Regions from separate parts of the Homo sapiens genome. Here region 1 is linked to region 2. The links are contacts of gene promoters, found by promoter capture Hi-C in blood cells and fetal thymus (Javierre and others, 2016). All regions are on one chromosome and are shown on one strand. The core of a region is centred on a gene start or on the middle of the fragment in contact, and the rest is flanking DNA. Distances in the headings are between cores, read along the strand shown.

Region 1 (5,109 bases), core at 1,590-4,089, 950 kb after region 2:
AATTCCAACATTTATTAAGTTCTTCCTCTGTGCCAGGTATTGTGCTAAGGGTTCATTTAATCCTGACACCAGGCCGGGTGTGGTGGCTCACATCTGTAATCCCAGCACTTTGGGAGGCTGAGGCAGGTGGATTGCTTGAGGTCATGAGTTCAAGACCAGCCTAACCAACATGGTGAAACCCTGTCTCTACTAAAAATACAAAAATTAGCCAGGCGTGGTGGCATACGCCTGTAGTCCCAGCTACTCAGGAGGCTGAGGCAGGAGAATCACTTGAACCCGGGAGGTGGAGGTTGCAGTGAGCCAAAACTGCACCACTGCACTCCAGCCTGGGCGACAGAGCGAGACTCTATCTCGAAAAAAAAAAAAAATCCTGACACCAAACCAATGAGGTAAGTACTATCATTATTCCCATTTTTCAGATGGGAATAAACTGAGTGACCAAGAGGCTGAATATCTTCTCCAAAGCCAAAGAACCAGGCAGTGGCAGAGATCCAAACCCAAGCGATTTGGGTGCCAGGGCTCAAGCACTTCCCCATGCAGCCACTGCCTCGAGAAATAAAAAGACTCACCAGACACTTCCTCTGTGCTAGGTGCTTTGAGTTCCTGCGCATGTTTCCAGGGGTGGGCATGAGACAAGACAGCCAGTCTCACTACATTGTTAGAATGACAGCCTCCAGCTCTTGTCATCCAGGATATCATTGTGCCTGTTTTAATTTTACTGAACCACACAGCATGTTAAAAACAAAACAAAACAAAGCAAAAAGCCTTCCCTGCTCTGCTTGATCATGGATACTCCTTGATGATCTTGGGTTCTCAAGATCTGTCTTTACATGGCTTTCCTTCACCAGTGAGGCTCTGAACTTCTTGGGAGCACTCCTCCCCAGATCTCTTTAATCAAGACCTGTACCTGGCTCCATGTAGGTACCAAATAAATTGATGAGCAAATGAATGAATGTATGAGTAAATAAGTGGGTGAATGACAATAAATGGATATGTGATAGAGAAATGAGTGAATAAACAGAACCAGTGAGTGAGTGAGTGAATGAATGAGTGAATGAATGAATGAACTCCTTGGGGCAGGGCATGGGTTTGACTAACACCTAAGGACTATTCTAAGAAGAACCTCTGACCTTTACTGTGTGTGCGCCGTTATGCCAGCGTCTGCTCCTGGGTTGCCGATAGGTAATGACTTCCTTTCTTAGGACTGCCCCCCAACCTCCTTATTCTTGGAGCCTGGGCACACGCACAGCTGGGTGGCCCTTCAGCTGATACTGCCTTAACTGCTTTAACTCTGCCTGCTGTGCTGTCCAGGCTTCTGCAAATAGCCCAGGTGTGGCCATCCTCCAGAGGCCTCCAACATTAACTGTGAAGGGCCCGGAATAAAACCTAGTATTAGTAGGCCAGGCGCAGTGGCTCACGCCTGTAATCCCAGTACTTTGGGAGGCCGAGGCGGGAGAATCACCTGAGGTCGGGAGTTCAAGACCAGCCTGACCAACATGGAGAAACCCCGTCTCTACTAAAAATACAAAATTAGCCGGGCGTGGTGGCGCATACCTGTAATCCCAGATACTGGGGAGGCTGAGGCAGGAGAATCGCTTGAACTTGGGAGGCGGAGGTTGCGGTGAGCCGAGATGGTGCCACTGCACTGCAGCCCAGGGAACAAGAGCGAAACTCTATCTCAAAAAAAAAAAAAAAAAAAATCTAGTATTAGTAAACGCAGGTGTTTAACAATGTCACCACTACATGTCAGGGAACACTGATAAACTAAGAGAGAGCACGGGACCTGCCTGGGTGTGGCTGCTGTACTTGCAAGACATCTTCCCTCTCTGAGTTTCAGCATGCCGGCATTTGGCACTAAGTTGTCGTTCAACATATATGGAATGAATGAACGAAAGGGAGAGTTGGAGTTAATAACACCTTGCATAGAATAAACCCCGTCGGTTCTTAACCCGAAGAGAGTCGAGACCCAGAGCCCTTTTCCTTCCCTGCCGCCACGGTGCCCACGGAGGGGGCGTGGTTGATCTCCCTCACAGCTCCGTCGGGACCAGAGACCCGGGGACCTTTTACACCCAGGGTCCGCGCAAAGTGTCGGCCTAGCCAGTGGTTGGGTGGCGCCCGGGCCTCCAGGCAGTCTTCCAGGGGTCGGCGAACGAAACGCGGAGCTCGGGAGCGACCCGGCGGGGCCAGGCACGGGCAGAAGGGCCAAGAGGGCCACAGGTGGGCGCGGAGCGGCCGGAGTGGGCGGGGACTGGATGAGAGGGGCGGGGTCTAGGAGAGAGGGGCGGGGCGGCGGCCACAAACCCGCAGGCACGCCGCCGGCCGCCGTTTAGTCCCAGAGATAGAAAAAAGTAGAGGTAGGAGGGCGCGGCGGCTCACGCCTGTAATCCCAGCACTTTGGAAGGCCGAGGCGGGCGGATCACGAGGTCAGGAAATCGAGACCATCCTGGCTAACAGGGTGAAACCCCGTCTCTACTAAAAATACAAAAAATTAGCCGGGCGTGGTGGGGGGCGCCTGTAGTCCCAGCTACTCGGGAGGCTGAGGCAGGAGAATGGCGTGAACCCGGGAGGCGGAGCTTGCAGTGAGCCGAGCTCGCGCCACTGCACTCCAGTCTGGGCGACAGAGCGAGACTCCGTCTCAAAAAAAAAAAAAAGAACACCAGTAAGCCTCTACCGCAGGCCCTACACAAGCAGGCCCTTGTACTCACTGGCATCGCCCTCCCGGGGCCGCCAGGAATGAGGCACTGAGATCCCACCCCAAGCCGCTGGGGGCGCCATTCGACTTCGCTCCTACGGAAATGGGGCTTCGATGTCTTTCTGCGCTTGCGCGGCACGGAAACTCACTTCCGGCCCTGCGCACTCAGGGTCTGAGGCAGCTAGTAGCCGGGTGAGTGGAGGCTGGAGTTTTCTCGGACAGTGAACTCTACCGCCCCGTGAGACCCTGCCCTATGTGTCGCGGGAACACATGTCACCCCACAGCTCTCTTTGAGTGACCTCCCGACCACCCATTCCTGCCTAACCCTAGCATTCCTTCCTCAGCCTCAAGGTCCCAGTGCTACCCTCTCCCCCACGACCCCTTTAGACGGGCATGCGACCTCCACACACGCCTCACTTTATGTGATAGTCAGACTAGTCGCATCTCTCTGTCCTCCCTCAGTTGCCTTTTCAGAGGCTACCTCCCCTGTAGAGCCTTTGTTGGGGGATGAGGAGTGTCTTGGGTCGAGAACAGGCCCCTGTAACCCACTGAGCGCCCCTTCATTCCGTCTCTCTCCGCCCTTTGTAGAGGGTCACCATGAAGTTCAATCCCTTCGTTACCTCGGACCGCAGTAAAAACCGCAAACGTCACTTCAATGCCCCCTCACACGTGCGCAGGAAGATCATGTCATCCCCGCTCTCCAAGGAGCTGCGGCAGAAGTACAATGTCCGCTCCATGCCCATCCGCAAGGACGACGAGGTCCAGGTACGTCTCCCTCCGGCGCTAGTGGCGCTCGGACACCGTTGCCTAAGAACGTCATGCGTGGAGCAGTCACAGACTCACATGCCTCAGGACTCTGGAAAGTAGTGTGACCCTTCAGATGTGTTAGGCCAGAGATAGGGTTCAGAGCCACCAGAGAGTGCCTGCGTTGCTTTAGAGCATTTAATTATTTAATAGTAATAGTAAAATTTAATAAAACAGTATGTCAACCAAGCAAAAACCTGCTTTTTTGTTTGTTTTGTAGAGATAGGGTCTTGCTATGTTGCCCAGGCTGGTCTCTGAACTCCTGGCCTCAAGTGATCCTCCCACCTCAGCCTCCCAAAGCACTGGGATTACAAGTGTGAGCCACCGTGCCCCACCAAAAATACTTTTGATTTAACCTTCTGGCTGCTAGTTTGCCAAGTGTTGTTGCCCAGGGTGGCTTGTTGAACCAGACTGTAGGGGAAGGTGCTGCAGTGAGAGTAGTGTTTTAGTGTATTTGGGTGTAGTGGGATTGATGGACAGAGATTTGTGGGAGCTGGCCATGTGATAGCATTGGATTTGGCAGGAGAACTGGTAAAGATGCAGCGAGTCACTCTTTCATAATTTCTAAAAGACTGGCCCATGTGAGAACGTACAAGCCCTCTGTTCTCTGTGATTGGAGCTTAGAATGCATGAGAGGAGGGAAGGGAGTTGGATATGAGTGAAATAAGCAGGGGCTAGATTCATTCCTCAAAGGAATATTTATGGAGCACTTACCAGAGATTGTTCTAGGACAAGATTGACGAGGCCCTTGTTCTCATGGAGATCACGTTTTAGAGCAGGGTTTCCTAGCCTCAGCTCTATTGATATGTTGGACTGGATAATTGTTGTGGGGGGTGGGGGGTGGGGGCTGTCCTGTGCATTGTAGAATGTTTAGCAGCGTCCCTGGCCTCTCCCCACTAGATGCCAGTGGCACTCCCTCCCTTCACAGTTGTGACAAGCAAAAATATTTCCAGATATTGCCAAATGCTCCCTGGGGGGCAAAATCAACTCTTCCCTCACTCAGTTAAGAGCTATTGTCTTAGAGAATGAAATGACATAAGGTGATGAGGCTTGGTGTATCATCTGAGACACTGGGACTCTTTGAAGGTTTGGGGATATGTTAAGGAGGAAAAAATGTGGAGTTAAGCCGGAAGTGTGACAGGAAGAGTGGAAAGAGTAGTTCAGAGGTATGATCAGCAGTTTCAACCCCCTCTCTCCTGGATCCTTCCCATCAGACATGTTCTAGAATGGGGGAATTGCAAATACTTATAGGGGATAGGTAGGGATAGAAAATGGCAAACTGGAAAGCTCAAGCCTCACATATAAGATATAATCATCTACCTTTAGCCCATTGATGCCTGGGGGAAATGCAGGCCCATTGTTAGATTCTTGGATTTTCAAAGAGAGCTGGAAAATTTGGATTCACTTCCCTAGCCCACATTTCCTTCCAGCTACTACACTTTGTTCTCTATTCATAACCAACCTCCTCAAGAGAGCTGTCTACACTTCCTCATCTCCCATTCACTCTTGGATTCTCTTCAGTCTATTCCCTGTCCCCACTACATTATAGAACCTACTTTGACGTAGATCACTAATAATCCCTTCGTGACTGAATCCAGTGGACACATCTAGCA
Region 2 (5,353 bases), core at 1,022-3,521:
ATTCCAGTTTAAATCCCAGTTTATAATGTCCTTAACAGGCTGAAATCTCTTTTCTGATCAAAACCAAGTGCTATCATGTAAAATCAAAACTTTTTAAGTTATAAGCATAGGAAGCCAGTGAATTTAGGCCAAAGGTTTTTATTTTTTTATTTTGTAACCATACACTGACTTGGGTTACAACGTATTTCTTATAATTCTTTTGAAAATAAATACATTTTCGTTATTTTTTAAAGGAATAGAAATGGAAGGAGCTGGGAACAGCCAATTTCAAAGAGGCACCAAGTTACAATTTTTCGATATGAAGTACTTCTGTTGTAAGTACATGCACTGTGTGTACATTCTTAAGAATATGTAATATACTTAGTCGATTTAAGATAGTTACCAAAATAACCCACTACAAAAGTTACAGAATACCAAACACTTGACTACAAGTATGATAAATTATGCTGAAAAGGAAAAATCACTCAGTATGTGACATCCCTTTGAAAACAACCCCACGTGCACACACACACACACACACACACACGCATGCAAAAATCAAAAACTATCAGTTTCTTTTTTTCCCTCCTAGTTTTCAAGAATGCTAGAGAAGTCCAGTTCTGTGAATTATGCAAAGGACAGCAAACATTAAGCTGCCTCCATATTTATGCTACTGTACTTCCATTTTTAAAACAAGCATCTCAACTCCCCAGACACCATCATCCACAGAAACCATGCAGCTATCCAACAGACTTTCAGTGTCACCATTTATTATTTATAGCGTTAAATGGGGGAAGTGGCTCTGATGTCACCAACCCTACCCAGTGGAATCACTGACTCAATAAACATTTTCACACTGAAGAAAATCTGGCTAGGAAAACATTTTGCTGGGTTAAGTAGATTCTTCCACCTCTCCTCTCAACCCTGGGGAAGAAGTTGTTACCGTGTTAGGAAAGATACAAAGAAACTGTCAAGGCTTCCATAGGAAGAAATCCTGGACATGTCCATTTGCTGATGCAGACTTCCTCTTCCCAGCTCTCCAGAGCCCAATTTGATTTCCCTCATGTTCACGTTGGCAGGTAATATCTGCCATATTTTATTTCTTCCACCAAATCATCCATCAATTAGCAAATTCTTCACTTCTAGCCACTCTCTCACTGTCCTGTTCCTAAAAACCCCTTCTGGTTTCAAATCCTAAAGCTTCGGAGGAGGGTGGAGGGTGTCCACGGACCGGGAGTCTGGCCTGGCTGCCAGTGGTTTCTAACAGAAGAGTGGTCGCTTCCCCCGGGGGCCAAGGATTCCCCTCTTTTTTTTTTCTTTCTGAGAAGAAAGACCTCGCGGCAGTGATGAGGATGGCTCCCTCCCCAGTCATCTCCAATTTCCCAAAGCAGCTCTGGAAAACGTGAAGTTGCGCCTTCTCTTTCCTGGAGGATGGAATCCAGAGTACCTGGGCCCTTGCTATGCAAACATCCCTCTCCGCCGGGTAGGAAACCCTTTGTCCGAGAAGCCGGACACCACAAGGGCCCGGGAAAGAGGCCTCCTTATCCGCCACAGCCTCAAACCCGAAAGCTCCCTGCCCCCCCAGCTCTGTAGGGCCTATCCTGGCATCCACACAGACCTAGGCTGGGGAGTGGGTGCTGAGACCTCTCCTAGGACGCGGAGGCCCAGGCGGCCCCAACCCATCTCCGTACTCCTTCCCACCATCTCACTCGGCCTGAGTGGGGCTTGCAAGCGCGGTGCGGGCCTGGGCCGAAACAGAGGAAAGAAAAAAAAATCCCTTTCTAAAAGAAGGAGAATGGGGTGCTAGAGCGAGTGCGACCTAAGTCTACAGCATAAACGAGCGAGGGTCGTCCGAGAGCTGGGACCGGAGACGGGACCAGGGGGAGGGGGAGAAGCGAGGGGCATGGAGGGGGCCGGGCCAGGACCGGCCGGAGATGTCGAGGGATCAGAGGAGCCCGCGCCAGGTCCGAGGCCAGGGAAGGCTGGGGGCCCGGGTCTGGGTCGAGGCGTCTGGGAAGGGCCAGAGCCGGCCTCGCACCGGACGTTGAGGTGGGCAGGCCCGCCCGGGGCCGGACGGACGGAAGCACAGACGGTCCAGCGGGCCGCACTCACCATGAGCTCGATGGTCTTGTCCTCAATCACCGAGTCGGGCTCCATGGCGGCCCCGGCGGCCCCGCCTCGCTCTCCCCGCGCAGCAGCGAACGGCCCGGGCGGAGGAGGCGACGGCGGAGGCGGCAGAGGCGGAGGCGGCTATCGCACCCACTCTAGCTGCCAGCCCGCCCGGGCCGCCGGCAGCTCCGCCCTCCCCCTCGGCGAACGCAGTACGCAGATCGGGGACTACACCTCCCAGCAGGCGCCGCGGCCCGCAGAGCGTTGTGGGACCGAGCCTCTGACACCAGGTTGCTGGCTCTTGGCAGCCCGAAGCTGAACTCCGAGCTGAGAGTAGCACTGGACGGTGGGCGTAGGACGTGCAGACCTGAAGAGTTAAGAGCTTGCTCATGGCAGGGCCTCGAGAGCGCCACGACTACGTGTCCCAGAAAGCCGTGCGCCCGGGTTGTCCTTCCGGCTAGCTTCTCTTGACTTCCTGGCAGCCCAAGGCTGCCCAGACCGGGACGGAAACTCCGAGGCAACTCCTCACTTGTCGGAGGTCCTGCGTATGCGACCCATTTCCGCACATGCGCGGTCCATGCCGCAGTGCTCCCTAGACGCCTAGGTAGCTGCGCGGCCCGTCCGGCAGTGTCTGATGGTAGGGGCAGATGGTGGAGACAGGTGGGTTCTAGGTGCGTTAGGAAGGTGTATAGACCTGGGGCTCAGGTGTGGGAAGGGGCCAGCGAGTGAGAGAAGCTCGGCCTGGGGAAGAGGCTCTGAGAGGATGGGCATCCCAGGAGTGAGAGTTTCGAGATTTCTTCGGGAAAGACGGGGTTTTGGGAAATGTGCTGTGGTGCTGTCTGTATGTCACACGATCTGCGAGGAGCTGCGAGATTAAAGGGGACGTGCGTATATCGAGCCCCTCATTCATTCGTTCAGAAAATGGTTATTTTTTAAGCATCCAGCTTCCGCTGCGTACCGTTCTAGGCGCTGAGAATCAGCTCTGAACATGACAGACAAGGCTCCTGTTCTCATGGAGCTTAATTCTGGTGGAGGGACGACAGACACTAACCAAAAGAGTGGCTAAGAAGGAACACACAAGCGGAGACTCCTTCTAGTGAACTCAGCCTCCAACTCTGTGTAACTTAGGTCTGTCCGTGCCCTCTAACCAAATCCCACCAGGAAGACACGGATCGTTGAACAAGCTGGGTTTATTACTAGTTGCAGTGACTGAGAACACACATTGAGGAACGATAGGGCCTCTCGGTAAGAGTTGTTAGTGATTTGGGAGAGGGTTTAAGGAAGTGAGAGCTTCACTGGATTAGATACTGTCAGGAAGAGAGGGTCGTTCCATGATTGAGCATCTCAGTTCATCTTATCTAGAGGAAGGGAATTCTAGATTGAGGCTAAAGCTGTGCAGATAAAGAAACAGCAGCCTGGCCGGGCGCAGTGGCTCACGCCTGTAATCCCAGCACTTTGGTAAACCGAGGCAGGCGAATTGCTTGAGCGCAGGAGTTCCAGACCAGCCTGGGCAACATGGCGAAACTCTTCTCTACAAAAAATACAAAAATGAACCGGGCCTGGTGGTGCGCGCCTGTCATCTCAGTTACTTGGGAGGCAGAGGTGGGACGATCGCTTGAGCCCAGGAAGTGGAGGTTTCAGTGAATGGAGATCGCACCACTCCACTGTACCCTGAGTGATAGAGCCAGACCTTGTCTCAAAAACGAAAAAAAAAAAAAAAAGTGCAGCAGCAGCTCCCTCATATTAGCCAAGTGGGGATGTTGAGTCATTTTTTGTGGTTTGGACAATCATCAGGTTTTATCTTTTTATCGTGTTTAGACCTGATTATAGAGTGGTCTTGTATTTGTCTGGATCTATCATGGTCACAGAATGACCTCGTCTGATGTTGATGTTCTTTGGAATTGTTTTTGTTCTACAGGAAAACACAAAGCCTAGCTATAAGGGCCAGGCTGTGGTCTAGTAACATCATGGCATGGCTGATTGTACCAGGCCAGCTTCCAGATATCAGAGGCTGCTTTTCACTTTCTCAAAGTGTTTTTGCATTCTCTGCACCTATAAAGTCAAAGAGGCTGGATGACCTAGAAATCTTTCCATTACCAAGGACCAAGTTACAGTAATTTGCATGCATTCAGGACACAGTATAAGTTCCCTGCAGGTAGACTTTGAAGTTTCATAGTCCTTACCTGGTGCTTTTCACCAAGGGAATTGAAAGAAAAGCAATAGGAAGAGCACAGAATTGGAAAGTTCTTACCACTGTCATGCTATCTGAATTTCACCAGGTCCGTTCCACTATGGCCCTTAGGACATTCATTAGTAAAACAAAGGGATTAGATATGACCTCTATTTCAGTTACCTGTTGCAACACAACAAACCTCCGAAGACTTAGTAGCTTAGAATAACAATGGTTTATTATGATTTTACAATTGTGTGGGCTGACCCGGGCTCAGCCGGGGCCCACATGCAATCAGCTGGGAACTCATTCAAAATGACTTTTCATCTTCTAGGGCCTCTCCTCCCTGTGGCTTTTTATCATTCAAACGTCTGCATAGTGACTTGAGAAAGGACAAGCCCCAGTGAACAAATGCTTATCAAACCTCTGGTATGCACCACACTTGGTAATGTCCCGTTGGCCAAAACTAGTAGTATGGCCACACCCATAGTCAGTGTGGGAAAGGATTGTACAGGGGCATAAAAACAGGCATGGGGTAGGAGTCACAAGCTGGATGTGACCCTCCCCCCGCCGACCCGGCACATACATATGTTTGTCCTATACCGTCTTTTTTACTGTTTTTAAAATTTGATGTTCAGGTTTTCAAAATCTGAATTTCCAGCTTTTCTTGAAAAATTAGAATATCTGACAATTAGATCTACATGGCAACAATATGCAGGGGTTAAATAGCAACTACCTTTATTTAAGCATATATTCTATGGTTTTCCACAGTTGCCATCACTCCTTTTTGCCTTGTATCTGCATGCTTCACTCATTTAAGTTGCATCCCTAACCTGTATAGATATTTGAGTTTGCATCCCCTGGCATTGGAACTGTAGTGGAGATAAATCAAGGTTTCTGTCCTTTTATTAAAATCGTATACCTGGGAGCATAGGGAGGGGCTACCATCTCTGTGGCTGCACCATGATCTACAAAAAAAAAAAAAGAAAATTGTATGCTGCCTTAAAAGGAAAAAAGTACTAATATTATTAGGTCAAATTCCAGGAGCTCAGTGGGGTTAAAAGCTCATACATAGGAATTAGCCAAGTATGATGG

Evidence for each region. The method cuts DNA at HindIII sites, captures the fragments that hold promoters and counts their contacts. A CHiCAGO score of 5 or more calls a contact.
Region 1: the fragment with the promoter of RPL26L1 here is called in contact with the fragment with the promoter of FBXW11 in region 2 in 4 of 17 cell types (monocytes, non-activated CD4 T cells, total CD4 T cells and 1 more); the score reaches 7.2 in monocytes.

The regions. Positions count from the first base shown.
Region 1 is chr5:172,956,585-172,961,693 of GRCh38, forward strand. It overlaps RPL26L1 (ribosomal protein L26 like 1), which reads left to right and starts at 2,840. Exons shown (of 4, transcript NM_016093.4): 1 at 2,840-2,884; 2 at 3,281-3,457. The coding sequence starts at 3,290. It overlaps RPL26L1-AS1 (RPL26L1 antisense RNA 1), which reads right to left and starts at 2,784. Exons shown (of 4, transcript NR_026682.1): 1 at 2,706-2,784; 2 at 1,555-1,673; 3 at 570-718. The HindIII fragment of the contact is 11,810 bases long and covers 1-5,109 here.
Region 2 is chr5:172,004,367-172,009,719 of GRCh38, forward strand. It overlaps FBXW11 (F-box and WD repeat domain containing 11), which reads right to left and starts at 2,272. Exons shown (of 14, transcript NM_001378974.1): 1 at 2,092-2,272. The coding sequence starts at 2,136. RefSeq lists enhancers at 1,437-1,556, 2,156-2,783, 2,327-2,596, 4,039-4,666 and silencers at 1,897-2,006, 2,017-2,296. The HindIII fragment of the contact is 14,963 bases long and covers 1,178-5,353 here.